Regions from separate parts of the Homo sapiens genome. Here regions 1 and 2 are each linked to region 3. The links are contacts of gene promoters, found by promoter capture Hi-C in human tissues and cell types (Jung and others, 2019). All regions are on one chromosome and are shown on one strand. The core of a region is centred on a gene start or on the middle of the fragment in contact, and the rest is flanking DNA. Distances in the headings are between cores, read along the strand shown. Region 1 has its middle 5.5 kb from the start of MOSPD3. Region 2 overlaps FBXO24 (F-box protein 24). Region 3 holds the start of POP7 (POP7 ribonuclease P/MRP subunit).

What was found. Contacts are between HindIII fragments. The study calls those that stand out against the background at their distance.
Region 1: a fragment that was not itself captured here is called in contact with the fragment with the promoter of POP7 in region 3 in 2 of the 25 tissues and cell types used here (dorsolateral prefrontal cortex and spleen).
Region 2: a fragment that was not itself captured here is called in contact with the fragment with the promoter of POP7 in region 3 in 3 of the 25 tissues and cell types used here (dorsolateral prefrontal cortex, lymphoblastoid cells and spleen).

What each region holds. Positions count from the first base shown.
Region 1 is chr7:100,616,576-100,619,417 of GRCh38, reverse strand. No RefSeq gene overlaps it. Among named protein-coding and RNA genes, the nearest start is that of MOSPD3, 5.5 kb to the right of the region's middle. The HindIII fragment of the contact is 1,590 bases long and covers 696-2,285 here.
Region 2 is chr7:100,595,694-100,598,581 of GRCh38, reverse strand. FBXO24 (F-box protein 24) reads right to left here. Exons shown (of 10, transcript NM_033506.3): 8 at 2,876-2,888. The region is part of intron 6 of PCOLCE-AS1 (PCOLCE antisense RNA 1); the gene reads left to right. Among named protein-coding and RNA genes, the nearest start is that of PCOLCE, 5.2 kb to the left of the region's middle. The HindIII fragment of the contact is 6,050 bases long and covers 1-2,888 here.
Region 3 is chr7:100,704,627-100,707,658 of GRCh38, reverse strand. It overlaps POP7 (POP7 ribonuclease P/MRP subunit), which reads right to left and starts at 1,538. Exons shown (of 2, transcript NM_005837.3): 1 at 1,355-1,538; 2 at 173-838. The coding sequence starts at 828. The coding sequence ends at 406. RefSeq lists an enhancer at 1,930-2,199. The HindIII fragment of the contact is 15,036 bases long and covers 1-3,032 here.

The sequences.
Region 1 (2,842 bases), core at 241-2,740, 88 kb after region 3:
GTCATGGTATTCTTTTATTTGATATTTAATGTTGCACTCCTTTGGATATGGGGACACACTTTCAAAACATAAATTCATGCTTGAACCCGGGAGGCAGAGGTTGCAGTGAGCCGAGATCATGCCACTGCACTCCAGCCTGGGTGACAGAGCAAGACTCTGTCTCAGGGTAACAAAAATTATTAGGAATTTCAAGGTTGGCACAGTGGCTCACGCCTGTAATCCCAGTACTTTGGGAAGCCAAGGCAGGCAGATTGCTTGAGCATAGGCGTTCCGGAGCAGCCTGGGCAATATGGTGAAATCTTATCTCTACAAAAAGTAAAAAAATTGCTGGGTGCGCTGGCTCACGCCTGTAATCCCAGCACTTTGGGAGGCCGAGGCAGGTGGATCACGAGGTCGGGAGATCGAGACCATCCTGGCTAACACGGTGAAACCCCGTCTCTACTAAAAATACAAAAAATTAGGTGGGCGTGGTGGCGGGCGCCTGTAATCCCAGCTACTCGGGAGGCTAAGGCAGGAGAATGGCGTGAACCCGAGGGGCGGAGCTTGCAGTGAGCCAAGATCGCACCACTGCACTCCAGCCTGGGCAACAGAGCGAGACTCTGTCTCAAAAAAAAAAAAAAAAAAAAATTAGCCAGGTGTGGTGGCGTGCACCTGTAGTCCCACCTACTCTAGGGTGCTGAGGTGGGAGAATTGCTTGAGCTTGGGAGGCGGAGGTGGCAGTGAGCCAAGATCATGCCACTGCACTCCAGCCTGGGCAACAGAGTGGGAGAGTGGAACCCTGTCTCAAAAAAAAAAAAAAAAGAAAAAGAAAAAGAAAAAGAATGTCAACATAACAATCTCAGAGCATTAAACCCCAAGCACAGAACCCCCTTCTGAGCATGGGGCCCTGTAAGACTCCAACAGTGGTTACACACATTAGATGATTGGCCCTGCCTGGAACATCCTCCAGGATCCCCCCGCCTCCTTTTTTTTTAGACGGAGTCTCGCACTGTTGCCCCAGGTAGAGTGCAGTGGCGCGATCTCGGCTCATGGCAACCTCTGCCTCCCAGGTTCAAGCAATTCTCCTGCCTCAGCCTCCCTAGTAGCTAGGATTACAGGTGCCCGCCACCACGCCCAGCTAATTTTTTGTTGTTGTTGTTGTATTTTTAGCAGAGACAGGGTTTCACCATGTTGGCCAGGCTGGCCTCGAACTCCTGACCTCATGATCTGCCCTCCTTGGCCTCCCAAAGTGCTAGGATTACAGGTGTGAGTCACCATGCCTGGCCAGGATCCCCTTTGACCAGTCTTTGTCCAGTGAGGGTGGAGACACTGAAGTGTAAGCTACTGGAGGCAGGGAATTCTAAGTGCTGCTGGCACCGTGTGCCTTTAATCACAGCTTCAGGAGGCTGTGGTCTTGACAGCTCTTCAAGACACTGGGAAGTAAAAGCTTCTTGGTCTAAGGCTTGGGATGCCACAGGGCTCTGGATTTCAGGATGCAACTGTACCCTCCTTAGCCCCCTAAGCTTGACTTGTTGAGTTCTCAGAACCCTGAATTAGGATCAGAAACCTCCTGAGCTATTTGCTTCCCTGAGATACAGTCCAGACAAGTGTCCCAAAGCACCTTCTCAACCCTTCTTCACTTTGTCCATTTCTCCCTGTGGTAGACAGAATAATGATCTGGACAAAAATGTCCATATCGTAATCCCTGAAACCTGTGAATGAAGTCCCTAAAACGGACATTGCACATGTGATCTTGAGATGGGTGAATTAAGGATCTTTTGGTTTGTTTCCTTACTTATCGGAAATTTTTAATTTTAATTCAGCCTCCAGAGTAGCTGGGATTGCAGACATGAGCCACCACGCCCAGCTAAGTTTTTGTTTTGTAGAGATAGAGTCTCACTATGTGGCCCAGGCTGGAGTGCGGTGCTGCAATCATAGCTTATTGCAACCTCAAACTCCTGGGTTCAAGAGATCCTCCCACCTCAGCCTCCTGAGTAGCTGGGACTGCAAGTGTGAGCCACCATGCCTGGCTAATTAAAAAAAAAAAAATGCCAGGTGTGGTGGCTCATGCCTGTAATCCCAGCGCTTTGGGAGGCTGAGGTGGGCCTGAGGTCAGGAGTTTGAGATCAGCCTGGCCAACATGGTGAAGCCCTCTCTATAATTATACAAAAATAAGTCAGGGGTGGTGGCGCACCTCTGTAGTCCTAGCTACAAAGGAGGCTGAGGCAGGAGAGTCACTTGAACCCAGGAGGTGGAGGTTCCAGTGAGCCTTGATTGTACCACTGCACTCCAGCCTGGGCGACAGAGCGAGACTCCATCTCAAAAAAAAAAAATTTTTTTTTAGAGACAGGCTCTTGCTATATTGTCCAGGCTAGTGTTGAACTTCTGGCCTCAAGCTCTTCTCCTGCTCTGGCCTCTCAAAGCACTAGGATTACAGGCGTGAGCCCCTGCCCCCAGCCCCTCAGAAAGCCTTCTTGACCACACCAGTAACAAGGTCTTTTCACAAGTACTCACAAGACCATTAACCTATGTGGCACCTCGAATGCGTTTTGGGGACCTGGGCGCATCCAGACTGGTGTGAACGGATATCTTCCATACACATGTAATTTAGCAAAGGGGTTTCCTGGGCTATGGCAAGAGCTGTCCCCAGACTCCTGGACACAAACGGCACACCCATTCTCCATGCAGTATCAGGGCCACACCCCACTGGAGCCAGTTCTGGGTGTGAGAGGGAGAAGACTCCCAGGGTAGTGGAGCAGGTCCCAATGCCCCTAAAGTAAAGCTGGAACAACTGATCACCTTCCAGTGCTGTGACAGCCTGGGTCTGTCTTAATATCTTGCTGATCTTTGTTCCCAGTCAACC
Region 2 (2,888 bases), core at 315-2,814, 110 kb after region 3:
AGAGTTGGTTACATGACCAATCTGAGGCTGACCACATTACTGTTCCTTCCCACAGCCAGTCTATCCAGCACCTCCCTGGGATCTCGCTTTTCTCTCTATTACATTACTGACATGCTCTCTCTAGAGGCACTTGGCCTCTCAGTGGCTAAATCCCAGGGCGTCTTCTGCCCCCTCATTCTCCTGAGCCTGTTAGCGCTTTAATTCTGAAGACACTGATAAGTAATTTATGGTCATTCTAGAAAAATTATGAAACATTGGCAAGCAAAAAATTAATTTTAAAATCATTGGAAATCCCACCATCTACTATTAACATCTTGCTAGATATTCTTCACTGTTGGCTAAACAAACAAATACACATAAATTGTATATTTTTTATTTTTTAGAGATAGGGTCTCAGTGTCACCCAGGCTGGAGTGCAGTGGTGATCACAGCTCACTGCAGCCTTCAACTCCTGGCCTCAAGCAATCCTCCTGTCTCAGCCTCCTGAGTAGTTGGGATTACAGATGTCAGCCACCATGATGGGCAAGTTGTGTATTTTTAAACAAAAAATGGGATGGGGCCAGGTGTGGTGGCTCACACCTGTAATCCCAGCACTTTAGGAGTCTGAGGTGGGAGGATTGCTTAAAGCCATGAGTTCAATATAAGCTTGGGCAACATAGCAAGACCCTGTCTCTAAAAAAAAAAAAAACAAAAAAAACAAAAAAAACAAAAACTTATCTGGGCGTAGTGGCGCATTCCTGTAGTCCTAGCTGCTTGGGAGGTTGAGGCGGGAGGATCTCTTGAGCCCTGGAGTTGAAAGCTGCAGCAAGCTACGATTGTGTCACTGCACTCCAGCTTGGGAAGCAGTGGAGACCATGTCTCAAAAAAGTAATAATAAAAATAAAAAGAGGCTGGGTGCGGTGGCTCACACCTGTAATCCCAGCACTTTGGGAGGCCAAGGTGTGCAGATCACCTGAGGTCAGGAGTTTGAGACCAGCCTGGCCAACATGGTAAAACTCCGTCTCTACTAAAAATACAAAAATTAGCCGGGCATGGTGGTGGGCGCTGTAATCCCATCTTGGCAGGCTGAGGCAGGAGAATCACTTGAACCTGGGAGGCAGAGGTTGCAGTGAGCCGAGATCGCGCCATTGCACTCCAGCCTGGGAGACAGAGCAAGACTCTATCTTGAAAATAAAATAAAAATAAAAATAAAAATAAATGGTACTATGTAAACCATTTCATAAAAGTCTTTTTCACCTAAAAATATGGCATGACTATCTTTTCCATGTCAGTAGTAAATGTATCTTACATTGTCACACCATCAATTAACCCTACCACCCACCCCATTTGGAACTTCCTTCTCATGTGGCTTCTGGGACAGTGTTAGAGGGGTGCACGGCCTGTCTTAGAGGCACCTCTTCATCCCCTGTCTACCACAGGGCCTACTTCTCAGAGTTGCTTTTCAGTCTCTACTTCTGTTTGTTCAACCATGTTCCCAGGTAGAATCTAATTGCCAGCTAGACGTTTCCAATTGAGTGTGGTTTTTGTTTTGTTTTGTTTTGAGACAGAGTCTCTCTCCGTTGCCCAGGCTGGAATGTTGTGGCACGATCTCGGCTCACCGCAACCTCTGCCTCCCAGGCTCAAGCAATTCTCGTGCCTCAGACTCCCGAGTAGCTGGGACTAAAAGCACCCACCACCACACCTGGCTAATTTTTTATTTTTTCTAGAGACAGGGTTTCACCATGTTGTCCAGGCTGATCTCATGCTCCTGGGCTCACGTGATCCACCCACCTTGGTCTCCCAAAGTGCTGGGATTACAGGTGTGAGATATCTTTCTTCCAGAGCCACCTCTGTCTTATACCCCTCTCTTCTACATCTAATCAGTTTTGAGGCCCTATTCATTTTCTTCCCAAATAGCTCCTGTATCCATTCCTTCCCATTCTCGCTGCAGCACCAGGCGCTTGTCTCAAGTGCTGTCATCACTCAACAGCCTCCTGGCGGGCTCCCCTCCTTGGCCTCCTCTGCACAAGGCTCCTGACACATTCTCAGTCACCTCTTGGGGGTTGCCTTCTCCTATTCCAGAACCTGCAGTGACTCTTCCCCAAATCTACACCTCTCTAAGCTTGTGCCCACCTGTACCACCTCATACCTCAGTGATTCCCAAGATGCCTTCTGTGCTTTAGTGAGACCCGTCTTGTCACTGTCCCAGGTATGTGCAAGTTTCGTGCCTATCCCCCTCCTCATCACACAGAATGCCTTCTCTATCCCTACCTAAGTCTTATGTAACCCACGATGCCCTGCTCACATCTTTTTTCTTTTTCTTTGAGACGGAGTCTCGCTCTGTGGCCCAGGCTGGAGTAGGGTGGCACGATCTCAGCTCACTGCAACCTCAGCCTCCCAGGTTCAAGAGAATCTCCTGCCTCAACCTCCTGAGTAGCTGGGATTGCAGGCATGTGCCACCACAGCCAGCTAATTTTTTATATTTTTGGTAGAGACGGGGTTTCACCATGTTGCCCAGGCTGGTCTAGAACTCCTGACCTCAAGTGATCTGTCCACCTCGGCCTCCCAAAGTGTCGGGATTACAGGCGTGAGGCTCTGCACCTGGCCCCTGCTCACATCTTACCTCTTCTAGAAGTCTCTAGCCTGCCCAGGTCACCCACCCTACCCCTTCACTAAATTCCTATTGCATTTACAGTGTGCACTGCACAGAATGGACCTCGTAGTGCCAACCCTGGGTAAGACATGGGGTAGTACCACTGGCATTACATACTGAGTGGCTTAACTTCCCAAAGGAACAGAAATTGGATTCTGTGGAATCTGGAGAAGTGGACAGATCTGGGGGTTAGGGAATTGGAGGAAAGGGGTTGGGATGAGAGTTGCTGGGAAATAGTCTCACCTGTGTGGGTTCC
Region 3 (3,032 bases), core at 289-2,788:
TGCACTGTACTGTTTTGTTACACTGCTCATAGCATAATCTATGCTCTCTATAGAGGCAAGAAACACTTGGGTTCCCCTTTCACCTAGATACCTGTAGCGTTTCCTACCATCCCTATTCAGGCACACACAGAATTTACACAGGAAAGAATCAGTGGCAGTGGGATGGCAGGACACTAGTGCAACAGGATTTTTTATTTATATGGCAATAGTTACAGACCGCATACACACACTCAGGAAGGCCCACTAACTGGGCCCACCAAGAGACAATTACCCCCACCCTCAATGCAGAGTCCTTTGGGCTTCCAGGGAACAGGCCTTTTCTTACATGGCTCTGGTCCGAGGTCCAGTACTCAGCATGCGAAGAGCCATATCACGGAGGGGATAAGTGGAGGAGTGTCTTTTCAATTACTTGGGTGTGACCCTGAAGACTCGGATGTGGATGGCTGAGTTGTTGCGGATCCGAGTCAGTGGCTCCCGTGTGTCGGTCTCTGGCTCCAGCTCATCAACAAGCTCCACGGTGGAGGTATTGGCAGCCACCTGCAAGGACCCGAAGCTGCCCGCCTGCAGCTGCAGCGCGATGTTGATGGCGCGGTTGATGGCCAGGCCCAAGCCGTGAATGTAGATCTCAGAGCACGCGTTCTGACCCCGGGCCCCTCCGTCCAGCAGCTTCTGGCAGCGGGCCAGCTGGGCCTTAAAGTCCGTCTTCATGTTGACATAAATGTCATTGGGTCTCCGGGGCAGGCGGCTGGGAAGCCTTTTCCTAAGGGTGTATTCCACTGGATCCAGTTCAGCCTCCACAGCACCGCGGGGCTCTCGGTTTTCTGCCATGCTGTGTGCCCTGGCGTGGGAAAGGGACGCGATCAGAGGGCTCAGAGGGACCTCGAAGCCTTTCCTACCCCTTTTCCTGTACAAAGGGTGCACCTGGCCGGGCAGTGGCTCACGCCTGTAACCTCAGCACTTTGGAAGGTCGAGGCGGGAGGATCACTGGAGCCCGGGTGTTTGAGATCAGCCTGGGCAACATAGCAAGACCCTGTCTTAAGAAAAATTTTTTTAATTACCCGGGCCGAGGGGGGAGGATCGCTTGAGATCGGGAGTTCGAGGCTACAGTGAGCCGTGATCGCGCCCGCCACTGCACTCTAGCTTGGGAAACAGAGCAAGCCTCTGTCTCAAACAAAAACAAAAACAAAAATAAAGGGTGCACCCGAGAAGGGACACACTCGATGTCCCTGTTTCCTTCCGGCCCCTCGTCCTCTCCCACTCACCTCCAGATCCCGCGTCTCCCCACCCCCCGTTCCGATTCATTCATCGCGTCGCCCTCAAACTCGCGCCCCTCCGCCGCCCCTCCCGTGCTTACTCTCTTCGTTCCACAGGGCCCTCCAGGCGCGCGAGGCCCGCTCCCCGCCAGGCCACTCAAGGGTTCGCCGGCCAGCCCAAGTAACCGCGACCCCAGGTCCCAGAGAAAGAAGGATGTGGGTGCAAGCAGCCAGCCAGCTCGTGGGCGCCCTGCCCGCGCCGGGGTCCTGAACGGGCTGCGGAGTGCGCACGCGCGCCCGTACCCCGCGAGCTATGAATCGCCTTCCCGGCTTCCGTTCGCCCCGCCCCTTCCCTGAGCGCAAGGGCGACTGCGCGAGGCGTTTGAGAAACGCGAGACTTCCGGGCGTGACGGGATCTACACGTGTACGCCTCGGGAACTGGCGGGCGGCCGAGGGCGGGAACCAGGTCCGAGCCGGGGAGGAGCTAGAAAGGGCCGGGTCGGCGTCTCTAGGCCTGGCGGAGTTCCCGGCCGGCGGAGGGGTAGCGTAGGGAAGACACCTGGAGGGGAGGCTGTTCTAGGGGCAGGGTTCTTCCCCATGGGAGCAGGGAAGGGGCCGAGTTCAGGAGACCGCGGTCGCCAAGGGGCCTGAACTCCGCGTCCGTCGCAGCTCCTCTGGTCAGAAGAGGCCTGGGCAGGGCTGGCAGAACTGACCCCCTAGTCTAATGTCCCTGTGGCCCGAGGACCGAGGGGGAACTGAGGGACATAGCCGGTCCCCACCTCGCTGGAGGACAGCGTCCCGGGACTCCCCTGCAGTTCACGGGAAGCTGTCCGCCTCCTGTCTGTGCTGGGGACCCACGCTGTGAGCCCTAAGCCCAGGCTTCACGGGTCCCCAAGGAACGCTGACCCACCCACGCCCCTCAACCATCTCCCACCAGCTCTGCAGCAGGCGACCCCGGATCAGGGACTTGCCGCCCCCTGGCGGGCAAGGTGGGGAGGACGCGCGCCGGATTCGTGGCTCTCAGGCCAGTGGAGTGGGGGCTCTGCCCAGATGGGCATAGTTTCTGCAGAGTTCCCTTCTGAAATGAGTAGGACCTGCTGCACTGGGGACCTTGAACTACTCTGTTTGCCCAGCATTCAAATGGGGATGTTCACAACAGCTCCACCATATTGCACATGCATTTTATTGAATGGCTAGCTGTATAGCTTCTGTCTACAAACTTGCATGCATTTATTTTTGAGACAGGGTCTCTGTGGCCCAGGCTGGACTGCAGTGGTGTGATCTCAGCTCACTACAACCTCTGCCTACCGGGTTCAAACGATTCTTGTGCCTCAGCCTCTTGAGTAGCTGGAATTACAGGCGCACGCCACCGCACCCGGCCAGTTTATTTCATTTTTTTGAGACAGGGCCTTACTCTGTCACCCAGGCTGGAGTGCAGTGGCGTTAACACGGCTCACTGCAGCCCTGAACTCCTGGGCTCAAGCAATTCTCCCGCCCCAGCCACCTGAACAGCTTGGACTACGGGCATGCACTAGCATATAAAGTTGTATTTTAGAAGTTAATCCTTGGTATTGAAATTTTCGATATGTTGGCCGGGCGCGGTGGCTCACGCCTGTAATCCCAGCACTTTGGGAGGCTGAGACGAGCGGATCACGAGGTCAGGAGATCGAGACCATCCTGGCTAACACGGTGAAACCCCGCCTCTACTAAAAATACAAAAAATTAGCCGGGCATGGTGGCAGGCGCCTGTAGTCCCAGCTACTCGGGAGGCTGAGGCAG